Regions from separate parts of the Homo sapiens genome. Here region 1 is linked to region 2. The links are contacts of gene promoters, found by promoter capture Hi-C in human tissues and cell types (Jung and others, 2019). All regions are on one chromosome and are shown on one strand. Each heading gives the region's core, a stretch centred on a gene start or on the middle of the fragment in contact. The rest is flanking DNA. Distances are from core to core; before and after follow the strand shown.

Region 1 (7,532 bases), core at 912-3,411, 110 kb after region 2:
TATAATTGCTTAACAAAAATAGATATGAATGACATCTCTAAGCTATTTATTAGTAATATTTCCCTCTGGAATTAAGACATCTTTTAAGTAAAGATCATATTTTAGTATCTTGAAGCATATTTTAATCTAAATTTTTCTAGTGACATGGTTTATAATACAGTATTTTGTGATTCAGTCCTTTGCTTGTAATTCTTATATTCTGATTGACTGTAAGACAAAACTGATTTTATGTAGCATTTCTAGTGGAGAAATTGTTAGTCATACCTTGTAAATGTCTAACTGTCTTACTTGGACTGGGTTTTTTTTAACTGCCATTTTTTGATAATTATATTGATTTTACACAGATGAATGTGTTTAGTTGCAAACTGCTGGTGGAAAGATGTTTATATTAAGTACAAAAACATCTAAATTAAATAGTATTTTTTATTTTAACTTTCACAAATGACATATTAGGTTAAAATATGGGTAATGAGTATGAGCCATCAGAAATTTTTAGGCATTATATCTAATGGCTTGACTTCTTTGTTTTCTCTATATTGACTTTGCCTCTTATTCTTATATTCCATATATTACCCACTAGTTATGTAAAATATGCTTTTTTCCAGTAAATAAAAAAACTCCAAATTTTTATGTCTAATTTAAATATATTTAACTTTGATAATTAAAAATTAAAACAATCTATTATTTTTAAAATATTTGATTTGCCTGGGTACAGTGGCTCAAGCCTGTAATCCCAGTGTTTTGGGAGGCTGAGGCAGGAGGATTGCTTGAGGCTGGGAGTTTGAGACCAGGTTGGGCAACATAATGAAAACCTCTCTCTACAAAACTGAGAAGCTGAGCGGGGAAGACGGCTTGAGCCCAGGAATTGAAGGCTGCAGTAAGCTATGATTATGCCACTGCACTCCAGCCTGGGTGACAGAGCAAGATCCTATCTCAAAAAAAATTTTTTTAATTAACCTTATTTTTGGAAAACATAATTGGAAATATGTTTTTGCCTTAGAGTGTTAAATATAGATGTCACCAAAACACCCTCTCATGACAAGATAGCTTCCAGATTTTCACTGTGGAGATTAAATCAAAAACTGTGCAAGTTGAGCATAAGAAATTTTAGTGCAACTTTAAATAATATATATCTCACCCTTTTATGCAGTTTCAAAACTGACAGTTTTTCTCCTTCCATTATGACAAATTTATATTTTATTTTTTATCTAGGTTCTTTCACTGTGAAATACAAGCTTCTAAATTTACGTATTCTCAAGTCCATAGGTTTAAGTGCATTTGCTGACTACATGTTTTATGATTCTACATAGCAGTTTGTGCTTTAACTATAATATTTTTAAAAATATCATTGTATTTGGAGTGACAAGGAAATGAAGAAATATTATATCTGAAAAAAAAAGAAAGAAACAGAATGTCTGAAATTACAAAAGGAATAGACCAAAAGTATACAAGAAAGAGATTGCTCAAGCACTAAACAGAATGGGATGAAACAGATGAAATAGAACACTAGCAAGGAGAAACTCCAGTGTCCTGTGCCTGCCTCAGTAAATAGATGATTCTGGAGACAGGGCACCAGATAAGAGTGTGTTGCCAGTAATATTCCCCAGGGCTGTTTTTAGTAAGTCCAGAGCTAGCACATTGGCACTTAAGCCAGGTATCTGATACTCTACAGCCGTATTTCTCAAACTTGGACCTCCATCTGATTCATGTAATGGGATGCTTAAAATGCAGTTTGCTGAGCCCTATCTTCACAGTTACTTATTCAGTAGATCTGGGGCAGGACTTGAGAATCTGCATTTCTGAAGTCTTTGTGGGTGATGCTGATTATGCTTTTACATGTCTCAAAGGCAGTACGTTGAGAACCACTACTCTGTGTCATTCTCAGTCTTGTACCTCTCCTGGTGTGTTTGTCTTAGGAGATGTTGTCAGTGGCCAGCAGCCCCTGAATCAAGGGTATAGAGCAGGAACACAGTACACTCTCAGGGTCATTTCTCATCAATGCATTTCACTCCACAGTCTGGTAGGGTTTGGAAATGGCCCAGGTGCCCACAATAATACAATAAACCCCATCCATCACCCTGGAATCCTCCATTCAGGGTGGGCCACGAGGGAGACTGTTGGGAATGGATGTTCTTGGTAAACCTAACAGAAGAGACAAACTGAGCAGGCAGAGTGGACTTTAAATTCCTTCATGTAGAGGGGTGATTAGGAGGAGAACAAATGGCAATACTAGTTTCCAACCCTTTGAATGAGAACTTTTTTGCTTATCTGTGGTGGCAGGTATCACGAAAATGTTGCACAGACCTTTTGTTTAGCTCATCAGCTATCATTAGTGTTAGTGTATTTTATGTGTGGCCCAAGACAATTCTTCTTCTTCAGATGTGGCCCAGGGAAGCCAAATGGTTGAACACTGTTTGTCTTCTCTGGGCCACAGTATATGAACACCTCCATATGCTATACGGGAATGGGCAGTAGGCACAAGTAAGAGACAGGGAGATAAATATTGAGAAGAAGATGAGGACCACTACTTTTTTTGCACAAAGTAATAAATGGTGGTGTACCCAAAATTCATGTGGAGAAAACTAAGAAGAGAGGTAAGTGATCTACAGTGTTAGATGTTACAGAGAGGTCCAGTAAGATGAAGGGTAAAAAGCCTTTGTTTGGCAATAAAAGAACTAACTTTGGGAAGAGTTTGGTGAAGTGGTCTTGGTAGAAGCAAGGTGGTTTTGGGCTTAGGAATGAATGAGAGGAGGTGTAAGGAAAGAGTTTTTCAATGTGCTTGAGTATTCGGGGAAAAAGTGAGAAGGTCTATCTAAACAATTTTGCAATTTATGCATGGAAAAGAAGCTTGAACAATTTTATCTGCTGAAAGCAAAGATCTAGTAAAGAGAGAGTTTGAAGAACAAGAAGGAAAGAGGTAATTAATTATTGGAGAGGAAGGTGATAATTGATTCTGCAAGTTCTTTTGGGAAGTGAGAGAGGCCCAGTGTCCAGAGCACCAAGGGAGCTATTAAACGTCTAATGCTGTTTCAAAGGTCTTCCTCTGACTGTTGTCACAAGTGTATGGTAATTTATTTTGATAATTTCGTTATACCTCTTCTATAATGGGAAACCAAAGTTTGAAGAAGTTTAGGAGAATTTATTTTCTTCTCAACTTTTTCAGATCTTTGCTATTTATCATCACTCTATTTTTGTCCACTTCTATAAATGAATAATTGGTTACCAATTAAGAAATTTTCCAGGCTGTGCATGGTGGCTCACGCCTGTAACCCCAGCACTTTCGGAGGCCGAGGTGAGTGGATCTCCTGAGGTCAGGAGCTCAAGACCAGCCTGGCCAACACGGTGGAACCCTGTCTCTACTAAAAATACAAAAATTAGCTGGGCGTGGTGGCAGGCGCCTGTAATCCCAGCTACCTGGGAGGCTGAGGCAGGAGAATTGCTTGAACCCGGGAACCAGAGGTTGCAGTGAGCCGAGATCATGCCATTGCACTTCAGCCTGGGCGACAGAGTGAGACTCCATCTCCAAAAAAAAAAAAAGAAAATTTCCAACAATCTTTTCCCCAACAACCTTTTAGGTGGCTTATTTTTTTTTCTGTAATATAAAAAAGTAGTTTTTTTCTGTAATATAAGAAAGTAGTCTTGGCAATACAACTAAGTACAGAAGAAATCAGTTCGACTTGATTGTGTATGTGTGTGTGTTTTTGGTATCCTGTATTTGTCAAAGCAAATTAGTATCTGTTGACACATATGAGGCAAAATAAAGTACTAATACTTGATTTTGAGTCAAATCTTACTACTATTGTTCATAAATACTTTATTGGAAACCTTTATAACATATCTCCTTTTAAGCTTAATTTTCCCTTCTAAAATATCAATCAATCAGTCAATCAATTCTCCTCACCCAATTGTCTATTCTATTGCTGGTCCATAATGGTCCGAGCCATTCATCACCAGGACACGTCCTGGCTGTACTTTGCAGTATGATGGTAAAGTTGCCAGAAGAAGAGAGAGGGGGAATACATAGGCCCAGGCACAGGGCAGGTTTCTTTGGTTTTGTTTTCTACCAGCAACAGTATGAGATTTTGTGAGTAGGGAAAAGTGAGGGGTGGAAGAGGAACCAGAGGCTGAAATGGAAGTTGAAGTAGGGTTGAAATGCCTGGAACAGATAAAATAAAATTAAACAGATTTTGCTGGTGTTACTGCGTATGTGGTTTTCTAAAAGGATAAGTTGTGTGCTAATTAGGACTTGATTGTAAGGATAAAAGGCTGGCACACTTAGGTGAGCTCAGGTATAGTGGGCCTGAGAAGAAGACCATTGTCTATTTTAAGGATTTTTTTTTTTTGTATTGCAGGGGTTGGAAATTCATAGGTATATAAGCTTATCAATATGTTGGCAATGAACTTTTTTTGTTTGTTTTTTTGACAGAGTTTGACTCTTGTTGCCCAGGCTAGAGTGCAATAGCATGATATCGGCTCACTGAAACCTCTGCCTCCTGGGGTCAAGCAATTATCCTGCCTCAGCCTCCCAAGTAGCCAGGATTTCAGGTGTGCACCATCACGCCCAGCTATTTTTTTGTATTTTTAGTAGAGACGGGGTTTTGCCAAGTTGGCCAGGCTGGTCTCGAACTCCTGACCTCAGGTGATCCACCCACCTTGGCCTCCCAAAGTGCTGGGATTACATGTGTGAGCCACAGCGCCCGGCCTACAATGAACTTATTGTGAGGTCTTCACAGACTTGTCCAGTCAGACTGTGGACTGACTGACCTTACCGTAGGTGTCAAACATTGTGCTTGATGTAGGGTTAGGAGTTAAGAGTTTGGGCAGACTGTTGCCTCTTTTAATCCAATAACAATTTTCACTCTTTTCTTTTTTAAGCTGGGTGTATAGTAACCTAGAATAAGTATATATTTTCAAGCCTCTGTTGTGGTTAGGTGTATTTTGTACCTGTTATTGCCAATAGGATATGAGTAAAAATAAAGTGTGTAACTTCTGGATTGTGCTCTTGAAGAGAAAGGAGGTCATGCCCTCCATTTCCCTTTTCCTTTCTTCCTTGCAACTGTAAATCGGAAATAATAATTGTGGGATCATCTTAGAACATGAAATGAAGCCAAGATGTTGAAGGTGATAGAGCAATCAGAAACAGCATCAGTCACCAACACTGTCAAACTGAACTACTATTTCTGCATCCTCTGAGTGATCTCCTACATGAAAGAAAGAAATGGAGGGTTTTTAATTTTTATTTATTTATTTTTTTGAGACGGAGTCTCCCTCTGCTGCCGGGGCTGGAGTCCAGTGGCGCGATCTTGGCTCATTGCAAGCTCCGCCTCCCGGGTTCACGCCATTCTCCTCCCTCAGCCTCCCGAGTAGCTTGGGACTACAGGCGCCCGCCAACACGCCCGGCGAATTTTTTTATATTTTTAGTAGAGACAGGGTTTCGCCGTGTTAGCCAGGATGGTCTCAATCTCCTGACCTCATGATCCGCCCGCTTCAGCCTCCCAAAGTGCTGGGATTACAGGCGTGAGCCACCGCGCCCGGCCGGGGGTGTTTTTTTTTTTTAAGCACCGTTTTATTTTTGTCTTTTGTTTCAGCAATCTGAGTCCTAACTAATATACTTGTTAAGATCTCTAATCAAGGTATTCAATAAACGTTTACAGAGTGCTATATGCCTGGCACTTTTCTAGATTCTACCAAGAGTGAACAGCAGTCCTCTACCCCAGCCAAAAAATAAAAATAAATAAAAATAAATAAATAAATAAATAAATAAATAAATAAATAAAAAATCTCTGTGCTCATACAAAGAACCTTCTAATGGAGGAGCTACCCCATAAGAAGGATAAATACATGGAAATATATAATTTCTTAATTAGTACTATGGAAAAAATATAGTAAGCAAGGGACGAAACTAAATTTTAAGTGATAAGTAAACTTTAAGATAGCATGACAAGAAAAGACTTCACTAAGATAGTGACTTTAGAATTAAACACTGAAATAAGCAAGGAAAGCAGCCATGCAGATATTGGGCCGAGGGAGGACATTCAAGCAGAGGCCCAATGAGAGCCAAGACCGCAAGACCTTATTGTGCTATAGCAAGGGGAGAATACAATTGGAGGTAAGTGAAGGAGAAGACAGTTTTAAAAGATGAGGTCAGTGTGATAAAGGGACCGTATATTTAGAGTCATGGTAAGTATTATGGCTATTCCACAGAGGAACTGTGAAGACAATTGAGGGCTTCTATCTGATGACATAATTCAATTTATGTTTCAAAAGAGGCATTCAGTTTAATTTGTAGAAAATCAACTGAAAGTCTCAAGAAAAAAAAAAGATAAGGCAAACTTAATAGAAAGCTGTTGCATCATTTAGATGAGAGACGATGGTAAATGGGTTACGCTGTTGACAGGATATATTTTGAAGGTACAGCTGACCAAATGGAGGGTGTGGGGGAGAAAAGGGCATCAAAGATTTCATTAAAGATGTGGCATGAGGAACTAGAAGAACAGACTTTCTGTTAACTGAGATGAAAATATCTGACTGCATGAAAACCTGATGCTGGCTGTGGGGAACAAGAAATAAGAGGGGTTTTAGACATTCTGAATGTGAGGTTCCTATTAGATATCTGAGTGGAGATATTGAATAGAGATGATAGACATCTCTGAAGTGTAGGGGAGAATCTGAGTTGGAGAAATAATTTAAGAAGTCTCAGCATCTAGACTATATTTTAATCATAAGACCAGATGAAGTCCCTGGGGAGTGACAGGTTAAAAAGAAAACAAATTCAAGGACTAGTCTGTAGCCTTGGGCCATTCAACATTCACAGGTCAGGAACATTAGGAGGAAGCAACAAAAGATAATAGGTGGGAGGAATATATGGGGGTGGTATCCAGAATTCTTAGTGAAGAAAACATACCATTAAGAATGTCTTTTTGGGGCAGGGCGTGGTGGCTCAGGCCTGTAATCCCAGCACTTTGGGAGGCCGAGGCAGGCAGATCACGAGGTCAGGAGTTCGAGACCAGCCTGGCCAACATGGTGAAACCCTGTCTGTACTAAAAATACAAAAAATTAGCCAGGCGTGGCAGTATGCACCTGTAGTCCCAGCTACTTGGGAGGCTGAGGCAGGAGAATTTCTTGAACCTGGGAGGGTGGGAGGTTGCAGCAAGTGGAGATAGCACCATTGCACTCCAGCCTGGGTAACAGAGGAAGACTCAGTCTTAAAAAAAAAAAAAAAAAAAAAGAAAAGAAATGTCTTGTTGGAGCTGTCTTTTCTGGGCTCAGGGAAAAGCAGAAAATATGACTGACTGAGTACTGTAGTCTGCAGACACGCCATGTGTTAATTGGACTGTCAATCTGGCAGAGAGTGGCAGAGGTGGGTGGAACAGTATACAGTCAAACCTAGAACCATGGAACATCTTGGTACAGACAGATAATGGCTATTGTAAACTATGACTGAATCCAGCCAGGAGTGTAGATTATCTGAATCGCTGCAGATCTACACATTTTAACCTTAGCACAACTACCAGTATATTTTATGCTTTTTA
Region 2 (6,670 bases), core at 810-3,309:
CTAAAGGTGACCATGTTGGCCTTAGATGGTGCCAGTTATTGAGCTAAAATGTATAGCAGATGCTGAAGGGGATGAGTGTTAGAGCATTATTCCTCATCAAGTATTTTGTAGCTAATAACAACTATCTTTTTAAAAGGTAAGTTACAAAGGTTAGAAGGTCATTTTTACTTTTAGAATTACTGACTTCTGCCAAGTATCAGTTTCTTGTAAGAAACAATTTCTGTGCTTTCCCTATTAGACTTAAATTTAGAAATAATGAGGTTTTAAAACATGATGAGATATTCTTATTAATAATAAAGTATTTCTTCAAATTTTGAGGAAGAGAGCTAAGGATGAGAGTGTGGGAGGTCAAAGGACCAGGGGTCAGGAAAAGGTGATAGTGGAGAATGGACCACCTACTATTGTCTTAATAAATTTACTAAACAAGAATTTAAATATGTAAACTACATGGTAATAACCCTCTGTGAACAGGCAAAAATAAATATCTTTGAAGAATTAGCACACATCTATATTCTTAAAGTTTTCTGACATTTGTTCGTGTCAATCAGGGCTCCCATGAATTGCAGTAGTATGTTCCGTGTTTTTCTCCACTAATTGCATTCATCACTGTAGAAATGGGGGGAATTGAGAAAAACATCTTTTTCTGAGTTAAAAATAGTAATAGAAATTTCTTTCCTATATAAATATTACACTTATATTTCCTACCATACATATTATACATTTATTTTGAAATATTACATTAAAAAAGGAAATTAACATTAAACATTGAGTTTGGTCGTTTTGTTAATATAGATTGCAAAATGTTAGACGAGATTGATATGGAAAATGTGTACTGCTGCTATTCGAATAGCTTCTGAAGTTTTGGAGGCTACAAGAAATGTTCAAAGGTCGTAGCTTTGGGAGATGTAGTTTTGGCTGAAATCTCTAATAATTCAAATAGAGATTCATAATGTTATTGCAGTCTATTGGCTTGCAGACATTTCTTGATTTATGTGTAATATTCACTTCACCTAAATTCTCTAAATATGAGAGATTCTCTGTATCAGATTTTCTCTACAAGGGGCTAATTACTGATTTCCTTCCAGTTTATTTAGAATATGTAGAAACGACATGGAAAGCCAAATATTTTGTCATAAATGGAAGTTTGGAATACAAAATTGGTGTTCGGGCTTCAAAACTGTCTTATTTTGCAGGAGGGAGACAGTAGGCTTTTAAAGTTTCCGATTCAGGTTCTACGTTCTAAAATAAAGCTGCCAGGGAGTTTTTATAAAGGGAAAAATGCAGCTACAGTATGTAGGAGATATAGGTGTTCTCAAACGCCCTACCTCGTTATGCTTCTGTCTCTCAAAACAAAACACACACACACACACACACACACACACACACACACAAAGGAAAAGAAAAAAAGAAACTGCAACCTTTAACATGAAAGTTTGCTGTCGGTAGTAATCCAGAAGCTCACAGCAAACTTTAAATTTTCTGAAATTAAACAGATCTCCCAAGACCTTGTGGATAGATGGCCTTTCTTTAGGGAGGAGCTGAGTTCAGGAGCTTTACAGGGTAGGAAGTCCAGGTATTCTTATTTATTAATGCATAAAGTTTTCCTCAGATCTTGTTTCTCACGTCTGCCTGACAACCCTGGAAATTGTGGAGCAGAGGCAACTGCGAGAGATAGTACACTTTGTGTTAAATCCAGGAGCAGAGAATGAGCAGGCTGTCTCGCGAACATGAGAACCTCTTCTGGAGGGGAGAGGTTACAAAGCAGATAAGGATTCCTAGGCTAGGAGCTACCTCGTCCTCTGGCTCCAGCCAAGCGTCCTATCCGGAGCCAACTGTAGCTGGGATCCAGCGAGAGGAAGGTGGGATAGGAGGAGGTGGAAGAGGAAAAAAACGGAGGTCGGGGAGGGAGGGGGAACGGAGGGGAGTAAGCTGGAGATCCGCGCGCGAAGGGAGGGTGGAGATGGGGGGAGCGCGCCGGGCGCAGGGAGCTGAGTGGACGGCTCGAGACGGCGGCGCGTGCAGCAGCTCCAGAAAGCAGCGAGTTGGCAGAGCAGGGCTGCATTTCCAGCAGGAGCTGCGAGCACAGTGCTGGCTCACAACAAGGTGATGTGCCAGGAAGCGGTTTTGTGCCCGCTCGGGCTGCTGCGGCTGGGGCTTGCTTCCTTATACCCACCTCTCCTCCTCTGGGTCTGCGTGTGTGTGAGTGCCCGGCTTTTGGGGGTAAAGCCTGCGGGGAGGGGACACGCTTGCCTCTGCTTGTCTCCTCCTCCCTCTACCCTCGTCGTTGCTAATGCATGTTTTCCAGGGTCGCTCCTGGCTTCGTACCCCTTATTTGACACTGACATGCCCCCCCACCCCCCGTTGTGTCTCCTCTCCCAGATGCTCAAGGTGTCAGCCGTACTGTGTGTGTGTGCAGCCGCTTGGTGCAGTCAGTCTCTCGCAGCTGCCGCGGCGGTGGCTGCAGCCGGGGGGCGGTCGGACGGCGGTAATTTTCTGGATGATAAACAATGGCTCACCACAATCTCTCAGTATGACAAGGAAGTCGGACAGTGGAACAAATTCCGAGACGTAAGTTCCGCGCACCCACATCCCCGGGCACACGCGCGCGCTGCTCCGAGGCGGGGGCCGCGGCCGCCGGATGTGGGTGGGGAGTGGGCTCCGTTTTCTGAGGAGAGGGGTTTAGGGAAACGCGGCGGCGCAGGGCTGCTGGAGAAGTTCACAGTTCCGCTGCCCCCTCCCAGCTGGTTCAAGGGCTTGTTTCTTGGATGCACAGGAGTTCAGGTCTCACCAGGTTCACACTCTTCCTCCCCCACCCTGCTCTCCCCTGTGCCCCCTCCCGGCCCACAAAGGTTACAAAGTGCTGGCTCTAACCTCTCAACTTTTGAATGGTGTTTCTGGCACTGGTAAACACAGCAGATGTGCCTTTGCGATGTATCGCTACTAAAGTAACTAGGATCGATCCTGTCACTAATGGTCCATTAAGGAATTTGAGGGAGGAGGTAGGAAGATGTAAGATTTATAAATGCCCGCTCTCCAAGGGTGGGAGGATGTTTGGCGGCACCAGTAAGGACTCGTTGAACGCTCCCGCTTACATAAAATTGTCGATCAGATTTGTGCTTCGACATGACTTTAATCTAGAACATCTTTGCAATGCATTTGATTATATTTTATTCCAAAATGAATCACTGCCTTGAACTCTGCGGGAAGAGGTTGCGAGGGCGGGAGGATTGCAGGTGACAGCGATAAAAGAGTTAAACCATAGACTCCCCTGGGGAGTTTTCAAAAGGGTTATTAAGAGGGAGCCAGGTTTCCACACTTGAAGCTAGTGGCCATGGCTTGCCAGTCATTTTTATTTTCCTCACCTGATCTGAATGGAGCCCAGTAAGAGCTGCTCACGTACAGAGCACGATACAACTGGAAGCCTTGAATTTGGTTGTCCCAGTGAGGAGGCCGCCCTGTTGGCTGAATACCGCCCCTAGCCCACCCTTTAAAACGCGGAAGGCCTGAACTGGAGCGAGAGTGGTTCCTAGACACATTGCCAATCCTTACCGTGACATTTGAGAGAATTTCTCGTGGAGTCCATCTGCAGTGCACTACGTGGAGATGAGTTAACTTCTTTCATCAGCTCCGACTCAGTCACCATTTAGGAAAATAAAAGGGAGCCTAGGCTAGCTTTCATCCTGCCTCCTCTAACCCATTCTCTCAGCCTCTCCATGAAGTAGCTGACAAGCCAAATCTAGCAGAGGGATTCCTGAAGAAACACAAATTTTTACTTTAAAATTAGGTTTAGCCATTTGATTGAGAATATTTAATGGAGAACCTTGCCTACATACTTCATGAACAAAGCTTAAGCATCATTTTATTGCTAAATAAATGCCCTTATAAAAGCATACCCGTTGCATATTTGTTTTAAGTTTACACCAATATTGAGTACAAGCAAAAAGGATAGCGAGTGAGATATTCCTAAACCTAAAGAAAATTTGTTTATCATGCCCTCATTTGGCAAAATCAAAAACAAAAACGAAAATTGAACACTTCATCAGTATTTGAACAGTGTTTGACATTATGACATTTCATTATTTAATGGCTGCTTTAAAATCTTCTAGAAATGAATTTTTGAAAGACCTCCCAACAATGGGATATATTTAGTAGGTAATACTGGTTGCATGCTGTTTTCTATTTGTTTTGGGTTTTTTTTTTTTTTAATAAAATCAACTACACAAGATTCCTCGCTGGGAGAATTGTAAGAGTATTACTATCTTCAATGAGAGCAGAGATAAAAGCTTTCTTCTCTAAAATGTATTTTAAATTTTGAATAACTTAGTATTCTCTTATTTTATTCAAATTACTTTATTAAATTATTGAGGGACTTGGACAGTTTGTGAATGTGTTTGACTTAAACTATTGAGACAAGCTGAGTTGCCTACTATAGAGCTAAATATGCTAGAATTTATGGAGTCAATTTCTATAGAGATGGAGATTTTATTGCTATATCATTCTCAGTTATTCTAGGATCTCAAGGAAAAAGTCCATCAAAATTGTACATAAATTTTAAAAAGGATTTACTGATACATTTTATGCAAATATCTGTTTTGAAGTATATGCAACACCTAAAAATAAATATTGATTTATTTGAAAAACTTTCATCAGGTTTTAGTATTACCATTTTAGTAAGACAGTTATGTTTTTGCAAAGATGACTTCTGGAGGGAATGGAGCGGATAAATGCCATCATTTTTTACCCTTGAACCACCTGTTGCTTATTATTAACATGATGAAAGGTATGCTGACAGTGTGGTTTCTCAAATAATAATTCAGAATGCATAATATATAATCCTTATCTAGACCATCCACCCCACTGCTATTTATGTATATTCTTTCCCTTTTGGGGAATCATTAGCTTAATAATCTTTTCTGTAGCTCTCAGGATGTTATTTTTCAGTTGGTTTTCAGCTGGAAGCACATGGCGATAAGGCATTACTTGAAATAATACTATACTGCATGAATCTACCTTTAAATGTTCTGCATGAGCATTCATATCTCAAATAATGATTTATGTACTCACTTTATATGAGGGCAAAGAAACATGGAATTCTGAACCTCTTATTTGAGAAACAATTTAACTGAAGTACTTTTGTGCTTTTTTCCCATAAAATATAATTAATTTTATTTATACAAAAGCCTTGGAAAGCATCAGCATAATTATTGCTTGGATTAATCCTTATGATTATTTTTTCTTCCGAAGTGACTGTTTTACATAATCAGCACTGTTTAACAAGTGACTCCTTAATGAAAGTTTGAACTGTTCTTTCTTTTGAAATACATTTTAAAAGTATCTTAAATAATATTTAAAAATACAATTTAGCATTATATTTTAATTGAATAATTTTAAAAATAAATGTTACTCTTTATATATTTGTAATATACGTATGTAAATATAATTGATTTACAATAAAGCTTTAGGAACAAAGAGCATGGATAGAGTTACGAGAGAGTAGGTGAGCATAAAAACTACTGCCGTTGAGGCTCATTTTCTTGATTTCCTCAATATAAATGCTAAAGAAGCAATGAAAGCAAAGACAAGCTTACAGTGAATAGGTATTAACACAGGAGAAACAAGCTTGCAATGAGTAGGTGTTAACACAGGAGAAACCTCAAGTATTTTTGACTGCTCTATGCTAGCAATGTCTGTTGAATAAAGTTTGTTACCTTTGTTGTCCTTTTGAAGGACGCTTGGAGTGTACGATGCTTAATGTTATAGACATAAAGAGCTTTCACTGTTTTGAAAATTATTAATTTATTTGGTTATTAGTATAAAAATTCTGATAAGGATTTTAATATCTATGTCTTAGGAAAGCATACAAGTTTCACTTAATCTAAAGATACAGAAAAGTCAACACATTTAAACATAAGTACAGTAGATAGAACCAGCATGCTTTACTTAGGTTATAATTATGTGATTTTGAAATAAAATAAAATAAGAACTCCCTCAACAGTGGTATATATTCAGTAGATATACTGGTTACATGCTGGTTTTTTTTTTTTTTTTTTTTGGTGGGGGGCTCTGTTGACTAGTGATAAAATTAAGTACACAAGATTCCTCAGTGGGAAAATTGTGGGGTACCATTACTTTCTCCCAGAGCAGGAGTAAAGGATTCATTCATCCCATTCTTGTGAATATATTAGGAGAATTGGAAATCAGCATCGTTATGAGGAAACTGAATTATTAGCTCGAGTGGCTTATGTATTGCATATTTCAAATATTTATATTTTATAGTTTAATTAAACCATACCCTTTATCATGTAATAAATGAGTATGGAATTTGGAACCAATGAATTACTTAGTAATGCATGGTATAATAACATTATCAAAATTATCTATTATTGATTTCACTGAAATACATAAATTAATTAGGAATGACAAAAAAAGATAAAATATGAGAAGCCCTCAAATATTGTATTTTGGAATCAATATAATAAAAACTTAGAAAAAAGAGGAATGATGGCCATGCTAATTTTTAAGTAACTCATATAATAAAAACAGGATTGTACCCTTTAATGGAAATTCAAATAGTTCTAGATTAAATTAAATTTGTTTTTCAATAAAAATACCTGGGGCTCATTCTGAACTTTTTGTTTTAAGGAATGGTGACCACTAGTGTTATAGAAAC

The links. Contacts are between HindIII fragments. The study calls those that stand out against the background at their distance.
Region 1: a contact is called between a fragment that was not itself captured here and the fragment with the promoter of SPOCK3 in region 2, in 2 of the 25 tissues and cell types used here (hippocampus and thymus).

The regions. Positions count from the first base shown.
Region 1 is chr4:167,123,437-167,130,968 of GRCh38, reverse strand. All of the region lies in intron 2 of SPOCK3 (SPARC (osteonectin), cwcv and kazal like domains proteoglycan 3), which reads left to right. Among named protein-coding and RNA genes, the nearest start is that of SPOCK3, 110 kb to the left of the region's middle. The HindIII fragment of the contact is 3,906 bases long and covers 209-4,114 here.
Region 2 is chr4:167,229,883-167,236,552 of GRCh38, reverse strand. SPOCK3 (SPARC (osteonectin), cwcv and kazal like domains proteoglycan 3) reads left to right here and starts at 2,059. Exons shown (of 11, transcript NM_001040159.2): 1 at 2,059-2,103; 2 at 2,380-2,568. The coding sequence starts at 2,380. The HindIII fragment of the contact is 6,194 bases long and covers 1-4,065 here.